Regions from separate parts of the Homo sapiens genome. Here all the other regions are linked to region 1. The links are contacts of gene promoters, found by promoter capture Hi-C in blood cells and fetal thymus (Javierre and others, 2016). All regions are on one chromosome and are shown on one strand. Each heading gives the region's core, a stretch centred on a gene start or on the middle of the fragment in contact. The rest is flanking DNA. Distances are from core to core; before and after follow the strand shown.

What was found. The method cuts DNA at HindIII sites, captures the fragments that hold promoters and counts their contacts. A CHiCAGO score of 5 or more calls a contact.
Region 2: a fragment that was not itself captured here is called in contact with the fragment with the promoter of CREB1 in region 1 in 1 of 17 cell types (neutrophils); the score reaches 5.8 in neutrophils.
Region 3: a contact is called between a fragment that was not itself captured here and the fragment with the promoter of CREB1 in region 1, in 1 of 17 cell types (neutrophils). The highest score is 5.3, in neutrophils.
Region 4: the fragment with the promoter of ZDBF2 here is called in contact with the fragment with the promoter of CREB1 in region 1 in 1 of 17 cell types (fetal thymus); the score reaches 6.2 in fetal thymus.

The regions. Positions count from the first base shown.
Region 1 is chr2:207,528,681-207,531,267 of GRCh38, reverse strand. CREB1 (cAMP responsive element binding protein 1) reads right to left here and starts at 1,306. Exons shown (of 8, transcript NM_004379.5): 1 at 1,134-1,306. It overlaps LOC124907970 (a long non-coding RNA gene), which reads left to right and starts at 1,671. Exons shown (of 3, transcript XR_007088060.1): 1 at 1,671-1,832. RefSeq lists silencers at 1-167, 878-927, 958-1,087, 1,758-1,937 and enhancers at 1,178-1,277, 1,538-1,737. The HindIII fragment of the contact is 5,804 bases long and covers 1-2,587 here.
Region 2 is chr2:206,149,722-206,152,308 of GRCh38, reverse strand. It overlaps NDUFS1 (NADH:ubiquinone oxidoreductase core subunit S1), which reads left to right. Exons shown (of 19, transcript NM_005006.7): 4 at 2,384-2,491. Among named protein-coding and RNA genes, the nearest start is that of NDUFS1, 8.4 kb to the left of the region's middle. The HindIII fragment of the contact is 605 bases long and covers 979-1,583 here.
Region 3 is chr2:206,166,532-206,169,118 of GRCh38, reverse strand. No RefSeq gene overlaps it. Among named protein-coding and RNA genes, the nearest start is that of SNORA41, 5.6 kb to the right of the region's middle. The HindIII fragment of the contact is 5,085 bases long and covers 1-2,587 here.
Region 4 is chr2:206,273,378-206,275,964 of GRCh38, reverse strand. It overlaps ZDBF2 (zinc finger DBF-type containing 2), which reads right to left and starts at 1,302. Exons shown (of 5, transcript NM_020923.3): 1 at 1,019-1,302. RefSeq lists an enhancer at 445-944 and silencers at 608-1,067, 1,348-1,407. The HindIII fragment of the contact is 6,855 bases long and covers 1-2,081 here.

The DNA.
Region 1 (2,587 bases), core at 57-2,556:
ACGGAGGGTGAGGGGAGATCCAGATGACCCAAACGCGGTTGGCAAGGTTGCACCCCGCGAAATGATGTAAAACAAGAGTACATCGGCTGATACTCGTTCCAACGAAGTGTTTCAGAATGATAGATCTCAAGTGATGATTACCTTATTAAAAAGGGTTAAAACCGAAACTGTTTTCAAACACCAGCTTCCCTTTTATAAGATCCCAACAGTTTAAAAAGTTATTATAAATGTTTTTCTTAGCACCCTTTCTCCCAAAAAGCATGCATTTCCATGACTGACTTTAAAAAAAAAAAAAAAGCAAAGGGGTGAGGGAGTCAAAAATTCCCCCCAAAAGCACAAGCTCTCATCTCTCAACTAAGCAACACAGGGCAGAAAGCAGCATTTCCTCAACGGTGTAGGAGCGGGGGGGAAAGGGCACGAATAAAATACAGCACGAGAGGAAACCTTGGGTTTCGAACTTTATTGCACAAAGAGTGGAGAGAAGAGTAGGTCAGACGTTGCAGCTCTTCCCCTTGCGAAGCGGGCATGGCAGGCACCGAAGCCACCGGGAAGGCAGCAGGCACCTTCACCTCCTCTGCCCTCAACTGTCGCCTTCTTCCTCCTCCATCCCCCACCGGCACCTAGGCGGCGGCTGCCCCGGAGGCCCGGCCGGGTCGGGCCGGGGGCGAGGCGGGCGGCGGGGGCCGGACGAGCGAGCGGCGCGGGGGGCAGCGCCGGGCCGAGCGGGCGGCCTCCCCCGGGGCGGCTCCGGGTTCCCGGCTCCGCGCCCGGCCCGGCGGCGGCGGCGGGAACGCGGGCGCCAGCTCGCCGCGGCCGGCCGCCCGCACACACCCCCGGCCGCCGGCTCCCACCCCGCCCGCCGCCCGCCGCCCGCCGCCCCCCGCCATGAGCGCCGCCGCTGGCTGCAGGCAGAGTCGCTGCCGCCCCGGCCGCCGCTGGCTCCAGTCCGCCGCCATTATTCTTTGTTCGCTGCGAGCGGCGGCGATGTTGTGGGGCTCGGGCGGAGGCTCCATCTTTACCGCGGCCCCTCCTGCGAGGGGAAGGCCCCAAGCGCGGGTGTCCGGCGCCTCCCCGTCCCCCCTCCGTCCCCCCGGCTCTCTCTGGCTCCTGCCTCCTCCTCCTGCTCCTCTTACCGGTGGTACAAGCTCCTCCGTCACTGCTTTCGTTCACGGCCCGGATCTCGCTGGAGTTTTATTCTCTCCCCCACGTAACACACCGCGTCAAACTACACCTCCGCCGCGTCACTCACCAACACTCCGCTTCTCCCAGCCGCCCGGGCCACAGGCAGCAGCAGCCGCCGCCGACTGAGGAGCCGCAGCCAGGGAGCCAGCCAGCGCCGCCCAGTGCCGAGTGCGCAGCGGCCGCGCACGGAAACAGCCGAGCTAGGCCCGGAGCAGCTCGAGCGGCCCCGCCCCCGCGCTGGGGACGGAACTTGCCGAAGACCTTCGGGTTTCTTCGGGCGACGAGAAGGGGTTCCGCGGGGAGAGGGAAGGCGAAGGCGGGCTGAGCCCGGCGCCGGGAGGAGTGGTCTAAACTCCACCGCGGCTTTCGCATCGGTAAAGCCGGCAGCGGAAATTTGAAGGAGGAAGCGGGGTTTGTGTGTGGCCCAGTGGGGGAATTCCCGAGGGGTGTCGGCGACTTGGTGGAAACCCCCGCTCAGGCCTGCCCCTGCGGCGGTGAGCGGCGGGCTAGAAGGCGGCTGCGGCTGCCCTGGCTCTGCTCTTGACCGCCGCCAGCCCCGGGAACTTTCCGACGCCGCCGGGAGACGGGGGACGGGCAGCCCGGGCTGGGACGCGGCCGGACCGCTGGAGCCGTGCGGGCTGGGGAAGAAGGTCTGCTGCGCCTCTGCCAACGTCCCGGGGCCTGGGACCCGGGGGCGTCGTGGGACCCCCGTGGGGACGGGTTTTCCTTTCCGAGACTCCGCGGAGAAACCTGGCGGCCGCCAGCGGAGCATGCTTTTCCGGGGGGCGCTGGCCCCGATACTGTGGCACCTTGCGGGGCTCTGCCCGGACCATGGCTGACGTCGACGGCCCTCGGAGGCCTCCAAGCCACACAACCTGCCCGGACCCCTGGAAATATGCCCCATCCTACCTCCCCGCCTTTCTCCAGACAACATCCTGTGTCGCTTTCTTTCCTCAGCCTGTTTTCTACAGCAGGGATTCGCACCCACTGCACCCTAAACCCAGCAGGGGGACTTCCGTGGCTGGAAACTACTGAATTGTTCTTTCAGAGGTCTCTCAGGACGGCACCACTAGGTCCCCATTCTCCTTGATAGTGAACTCTGCAGCCCTCTCCTTGGGGTTTCAAGTCTTTTTTTTTTTTTTTTTTTTTTTAATGAGACGGAGTCTAGCCCTTGTCGCCCAGGCTGGAGTGCAGTGGCACGATCTCGGCTCACTGCAACCTCCGCCTCCCGGTTTCGAGCGATTCTCCTGCCTCAGCCTCCCTAGTAGCTGGGATTACAGGCACCTGCCACCACACCTGGCTAATTTTTGTGTTGTTAGTAGAGACGGGGTTTCACCATGTTGGCCAGGCTGGTATGGAACTCCTGACCTCAGGTAATCCACCCGCCTCGGCCTCCTAAAGTGGT
Region 2 (2,587 bases), core at 32-2,531, 1.4 Mb after region 1:
CAGCAAAGTTATATTAAAATTATTTCATTTTAAATCTTGGCACTTCAAAGTGAGCTATCATATATTTGTTTGTGGCATTTTTAGTGAATTATGGTAGTTCTTTTGTTTCACTTTTCATTCCAAATGAATACCCATTAAGAAATTTGAAGTCCGAGCGCAGTGGCTCATGCCTGTAATCCCAGCACTTTGGGAGGCCGAGGCGGGCGGATCATTCAGGAGTTCTAGACCAGCCTGGCCAGCACTGTGAAACCCCTTCTCTACTAAAAATACAAAAAATTAGCTGCGCATCGTGGCGCGCACCTGTAATCCCAGCTACTCGAGAGGCTGAGGCAGGAGAATTGCTTGAACCCAGGAGGCGGAGGTTGCAGTGAGCCGAGATTGTGCCACTGCACTCCAGCCTGGGCAACAGAGCAAGACTCTGTCTCAAAAAAAAAGAAAAGAAATTTGAAGTAACTTAAATTAGTTACTATAGGTAAGTTTGTGAAAAAATAACCTCCATTTGTTGTGGGCCTGCTTAATGCTTTTCATTTTCATATAACCTTTCTGTGGTTAGTAATATTCATAGGAATATATCCTACAAAGCAGGTAAATGGAGGGTAGCATGTGCTTACATTCATGCTCTAAATATTTCTTCATATTCCTCCAGAAATAATAAATTGGTCATAGAGAAGTCATGCTTCACTCCATTTGTAAGTTGTCACAGATCTAAATGTTCTTTGTTCATTTTAGCAGTCATTTCTAGACTATCTGCCAGTCACAGACATGAAAGCACAAAATATGATATAAATGTATGTTCAAGGTACAGTGAAAAGTTGTGGCAGGGATAGGAGGTAGTAGAAAGAGGTATTGGGTGCCTCAGGTCATCCCTGAGGAGGTGTTAAAGGATGAACAGGTGTGTTCATATTGTGAACAAGAACGACATGCTTGCATTTCCTATGGAAAAAGTTAAGGCAGATAGCTTGTCATATTTTGAAAGCTTCAAATAGTTTAATATTGATGAAACATAAGGTATAAGTAGAAGATGAGATCACAGGAAATCAAGTTATTGAGGAAGGGAAGGTCCAGTCATGAAATACAGTATCTGCTATGCAGAAGAGCTTATATTTTGATCCATCAGGAGTTTTGTTGCCTATTTAAACAGGGTGACAGCGACTGTAGAGGATGATCATTTGGAGAATAGCAAGACTGGAATAAGAGACAAGGAAAAAGCATTTTGTATTATTGGGACAGGATACTACAAAAGCCCTAAAATAGATAGTGTCAATGGGAATGAAAACAAGAGAGTAGATTCAAGGGAGAATGAAATGTAGACAGGCCTTCAGGAATGATGAAGACCCGAGGGATTTTTTCCCCCGTCGTACAGAACTTCCCAATATTGCTTTAACAGTGAGAAAAAAAAAACACAAAAGAAGTTTCAGTAGAGCCACAGACAAATAGTTCTTTAGAACTCAAAGAGACCGGAGGAATTCTTGTGGTTTTCTGCATTTGTTAGGTTATTTTGGAGTGTATAGAGGGGAGAGAAATCATTTGAATTTAAGCTGTCTGTGGAACATACACATGCAAATACCTGTAAATCTGAAGCTTGGAGAAGTGGAGGTCTAACATGGCTGCAGATTAAGGTTTGGACATAATCAGCATAAGGAATGTCAGCTAGGATGAAGGCTGGGACACTATCTGTCTTTTTCACTACTATACCTGCATCCTGCACAAAGGAAAGACTCAACACATTTTTGCTAACTAAATAGTTTAAACACTGGAAATTGATGAGATTGCTTTAGAATGAAGGCTGAGGATGAGGAACTAACTCTAGAGGAAATTTGAACATGTTTATAGACTAAAAGGAGGAAGAAATTGCAGAGCAGGGTAGGTGATAATTGGCAGAGCAGGGATAATCCCCCTTACTGGGCAAACAGAAACTGGGAAAACCTTCAGCCACAGTGGGAGGTGAGTCCTGGGTAGCATATAGGAGCCAAAGACAGATAGCCAGCTAGATAATGTGTAGTGAAATCTCTAATCCAAAGGAGGGGAGCGAGGCAAAGAAGAAGTCCAGGTATGAAACCACTGGGGACATTGTGGACAATGGTTCAAAATGGATGTGGGAAGTCAAGTCTTCAGCACAGTGGAAGGATACTTTATCCAGTTTCTTCCACATAAGGTGAAGTCACGCCAAGGATCCTGAGATCCTCTGAGGCAGCTTCAGAGGAGACGGGTTAGAATCAAAGGCAAAGAAAGGGACTGAAATAAGAATGAATTAAGATAGATAGATAGATAGATAGATAGATAGAAGTAATAAGATGCTGTATGTGTGTGTTTCAGCAATAACAGCAGTGAAGTCAGGTTATTCTAATGCTTTTTTTTTTTTTTTTTTTTTTTTTACTTCTAGGCTTGTGAGAAGGTTGGCATGCAGATCCCTCGATTCTGTTATCATGAAAGGTTGTCTGTTGCTGGAAACTGCAGGATGTGCCTTGTTGAAATTGAGAAAGCCCCTAAGGTACTTGATACCTAAAATTCTACACCATGCTGTAGAAGGTAGAAAACTTTAAATCTTGCAGCAAACTTTATTTAGAATCAATATCGTAGTGGAGAA
Region 3 (2,587 bases), core at 62-2,561, 1.4 Mb after region 1:
TCTTGATATCTATGCACTTGAAGGCTCAACACCACATGGAAGCTGCCAAGGCTTGGGGCTTGCACCCTCTGTCTGAAGCCATGGCCCGAGCTCTACATTGGCCCTTCAGCCATGGCTGGAGCAGCTGGGACACAGGGCACCAAGTTCCTAGGCTGCACACAGCACAGGGACCCTGGGCCCAGCACACGAAACCACTTTTTCTTTCTAGGCCTCCAGGCTTGTGATGGGAAGGGCTGCCATGAAGACCTCTGATGTACCCTGGAGACATTTTCCCCTTGTCTTGGTGATTAACATTTGGCTCCCTGTTACTTATGCAAATTTCTACAGCTGACTTGACTTTCTCCTCAGAAAATGAGATTTTCTTTTTTATTGCATTGTCAGGCTGCAAATTTTCCAAACTTTTATGCTCTGCTTCCCTTATAAAACTGAACGCCTTTAACAGCACCCAAGTCACCTCTTGAATGCTTTGCTGCTTAGAAATTTATCCCACCAGATACCCTAAATCATGGGTAAAACATATCCATGACTGGGTATCACGAGAACAGCACAAGAAAGACCTGCCCCCATGATTCTATTGCCTCCTGCCAGGTCCCTCCCCACAACACGTGGAAATTCAAGATGAGATTTGGGTGGGGACACAGCCAAACCATATCATGGCAGAAGAAATTTCTAAGCAGCAAAGCATGCAAGGGGTGACTTGGGTGCTGTTAATGGCATTCAGTTTTATAAGGACGCAGCGCATAACAGTTTGGAAAATTTGCAGCCTGACAATGCAATAGAAAAGAAAATCTCATTTTCTGAGGAGAAATCCAAGCTGGCTGCAGAAATTTGCATAAGTAATGAGGAACCAAATATTAATCACCAAGACAATGGTGAAAAATGTCTCTAGGACATGTCAAAAAAACCTTTGCAGCAGCCCCTCCTATCACAGGCCCAAAGGCCTGGGAGGAAAAAGTGGTTTCATGGGCCGGGCCCAGGGTCCCCGTGCTGTGTGCAACCTAGGGACTTGGTGCACTGCATCCCAGCCACTCCAGCCATGGTTGAAAGGGTCCAGCGTAGAGCTTGGGCCATGGCTTCAGAGGGTTCAAGCCTCAAGCCTTGGCAGCTTCCATGTAGTGTTGAGCCTGTGAGTGGACAGACATCAAGAATTGAGGTTTGAGAACCTCTGCCTAGAACAGTGTTTTAGTGTTTAAGTCTCAATTTACACAAGGTAAAATTTACCCTTATGTGATATTTTCTTATCCCTCACCATATTTTCTTATCACCTCACCTCACCTCATCATATTCATGAGAATATGAAGCAAGGATTACACTGATGAAATAGGATTAAACTGTCTAAAAGCAGGGATGAAGAACCTTCCGTATTCTGTTACCAACACATCAACTGGCCTATGAAGACCCTGGCTTGTGTTCCTCCTCTGTCACTTACTAGTGACTTAGTATATTTACTGAATAATCATGGACAAATAAGCATATCTTTTCATAGTAATAGTCCATGAAATATCAAGCATTTCTCAATGTTGCTATAGACTTACTTTTAAAAACAAAGTTTAGGCTGGGCGTGGTGGCTCACGCCTGTAATCCCAGCACTTTGGGAGGCCGAGATGGGCAGATCACTTGAGGTTAGGAGTTCAAGACCAGCCTGGCCAACATGGCAAAACTTCATCTCTACTAAAAATACAAAAATTAGCCGGGCATTGTGGCGCACACAAGTAATCCCAGCTACTTGGGAGGCTGAGGCAGGGGAATCGCTTGAACCTGGGAGGTGGAGGTTGCAATGAGCCAACATCGCACCACGGCACGCCAGCCTGGGCAATAGAGCGAGACTCCATCTCAAAAAAATAAATAAAGTTTATAAAACATTTCATTGAATACATATGCCATAATTTAGACATTTCCATCTGTGAGGATTATAAGTCATCTGATCTCCTTGCTTTCATTCGTATCACCTCCAGATCAAAGCTGTCTTAACATTAATATTCTCTGGTTTGGAAACCTCATATAATGTGCCAGCCTGTAATTCAAATATGTCTACAGGCTGGCCCCATCCTATCTAAGATTCCAAACACACACTGCAAAATCTCACGAATTTGTCTAATTGCTTCCCAAATCTTTATATCTGATTCTTCCAAAAAACTTGTCATCAATTCTAGCCGTCTCTGACCTTCTGAACTTTTAGATTATTTGCTTAATCCCCAAACCAATGACTTTTATTTTTAACAATTTTATGTTTGAATTGCCTCCCTATACTAATTTTCTCTTCTTCTGTGTTTTTTTGTTTCATCTAACAAAGTGATACGGAAGGAATCAGTTTTGAGTTCCCACACTGCCCAGCCCTCTGCTAGGGATGCCGAACATGAAAAATATTGTTTCAGGCTGGACACGTTGGCTCATACCTGTAATCCCAGTACCTTGGAAGGCCAAGGTGGAAGGATCACTTGAGTCCAGGAGTTCAAAGCCTGGGCATCATAGCAAGACCCCATCTCTAAAAAAATTTTTTTAAATTAGCTGGGTATGGTGGCACATGCCTGTAGTCCCAGCTACTCAGTAGGCTGAGGTAGAATTGCTTAAGCCTAGGAGTTCAAGG
Region 4 (2,587 bases), core at 53-2,552, 1.3 Mb after region 1:
TCACTGGCCACTGCAGTGATACTTTATCAACTCTCTAACGAGTTGCTTTCTTGCCTTCTAGGCTTTAGGTTCAAACGATAGAGAAAAGGTCTTCCACGTATTAAGTGAAAAAAGCAAATAAACACCCCTTATGTAACACACGTATATATGTTTGTGTATTAATTAAAAAGGAAGGAAAGATACCCCCCAAATTGTTAGCAGATTCTCTCGAGGATGAGATCGCTACAGGCTGCCTCCATCGTCCCTCCCCCTCCCCACACGTAGCATATTGCTGTAAAAAAGAAAAACAAAAACAAGCTATTTCCTTTAGGTGGGGGTGGGGTTTTGGTCCCTTGAGAACCAGTATCTTGTTATGCATTTTTTTCACGAGCTACCAAGAATCATCGCGTGAGATAATCGCAGGAGCTGGTAAGGCCCTTCTTAGGAGCAAGTAAAAACGATGGCGTAACACGACCACATTTACACAACTGTTGCACGGCGGTAGTAAAAGAATCATTAACACAAAAATCAAACGTTTTCAAATAAACTATAATCGCCCGAGGCTGGGAAAGGCCTAGGTCTGGGGCCAGCTGGACCCAACGCAGGGCACTGGGGGAAGGGGGTGTGTGGACAGGTGGCTCGGGATCTCGGCCCCACAGGTGCCCAGGGGCAAGACTCCGCGGGTTCCCGGCCCTCAATCCGACCCCGCAGACCGCCCCCTCCCCAAGCCCGGACCCGAGGCCTCGTCCGCCGGCCCCTCTGACCCAGGGCCCCGGACAGAAGCGCAATGCAGCCTGCGCCCCACCTCCTTCCCTCGCCCCGCCACCTCGATCCCGGCCCGGAGCCGCCGACACCTCTCACGCAGCAGGGGCAGAAAGGGACGCGGGGTGGGGGGAAGCCGAGGACCTGCGAGGCGGCCGCGGGAGCCCAGCGAGCGGTCCTGGCGTCCCTCGGGAAGAAGGCGCCCCGGGCGCCCGGCGAGCAGGCCCCGCCCGCGGGCGTCGCCCCGGCCGCGCCCCGCCCCCGCCGCGGCACTCACCTCCGCGGAGGCTGCCCGGATTCCTTCCGGGCCGCGGTGGAGACCGAGGACCGAGCCGGGCGCTCTCCCTTCTTATTCCGGTTCCGCGGCGGCGCCCGAATCCCAGACCGTCCGAGCGCCACGGCCCCGCTGCCCGCGGAGCCAGAAATAGGCGACTTCGGCCCCTGCGGTCCGGAGGCGAGAAGCGGCGCGGGAGCGCGTCTCTCAGGACGCGGGCCCCGAGTCGCGACTCCACTCACGCAGGCATCCAAGGCAACGTGGCGTTGCAACCCTGATGGAGGTTTGACGTCAGGGAAGGTGCGAAAACCAGACCCCTTCTGACGCAGGAGCGGCGGGACCGCCCCCTGCCCGCCCACCCACTCACTCACTCTCCCACCCGGGCGGAGGAGCCCCTTCCTCCCCTCCAGAAGCTCTTAAAGCGGACACTTCCTCCCTGGTCAGGGCCCCACTCCGGAGCTTGGGAAATCTATCGCGTTCCAACAAAAATGACTAGACTCATAAGCACAGTTGGGACGCGAAGTAGAGACCAAGGTTTTAGCGTTTGAGGGTCCAAATAAAAACTGCTTGCCAATTCAAAGCAACGTATGAATGTAGAAAAGAAAACGGGGCTAAGAGAGCTAGTCGTTTCCGTTTCCATGCCTATTTCATAGTGAGGTGCATCTCACAAAAGCTGCTGTTCAATGAGCGCTTGCTCTGTGCTAGGCACCGTTTAAGGTTTCTATACATTATTGCATTTCATTTCAGAGTAACTCTGAATGAATCCTATTATTGTCCCCCTTTGACAAATTGAGAAAACTGAGGCTTAAGGAAGTTAGGTATTCAAAGATCTATCCTGCACATTAAAGGGTTACAAATATTAACAAACAACATTAGGTCATGCAATTATATTCACTGCGCTACCCCATTACGAATATAGTTGTGAGCAAAAACAGTTTAAGTGTAACGGAGATCACAAACCTAAATGAATCACACTACTGAATATGAAATTATAATCTGCGATAAGAAGGTTCTGAAACACCTAAACCAATTTTACTAAAATGGAGAGAGGCCCTGTTGCAAAGCTTATGTCTAATGTAAAAATAATCTTAAAATGAGCTACTTTGCTCTTTGGCTGTAGCTGTAATTGTCGTTACCCTTTTTAGTAAGCTTGTGATTTTGTCCCTTTAAAGAACAACAACAAAAAAACTTGCCTATTGCTTTTGCGTCCATTGTTTTTATTCTTTCTGTATTTCTCAGCTCCTTCTTCCCCCACTACATCTTTCTCTCACTTTAAAGTTGGGCTCCTGCAACTGTTCGATTTATAACCTCCCTTAGATTTAACATACCAAAAAGTACGGATTTCTTTTAAGGCAAGTTTTTTCCACATCCCAACTTTGGAATTATAGAAAATCCACTATACATTGATCGAAGCACCATGACATTATGTATTTCACAGATGCTAAGCCATGTTTTTCCCCACATTTTAACATCTGTGAAATCAAGATGCATCTTATAAACTCTCGTTGACCGGGTGGCAGTACAGACCTGGTTGTCATTACCTCCACGTATTACAACGTGGATGTTGCTGTG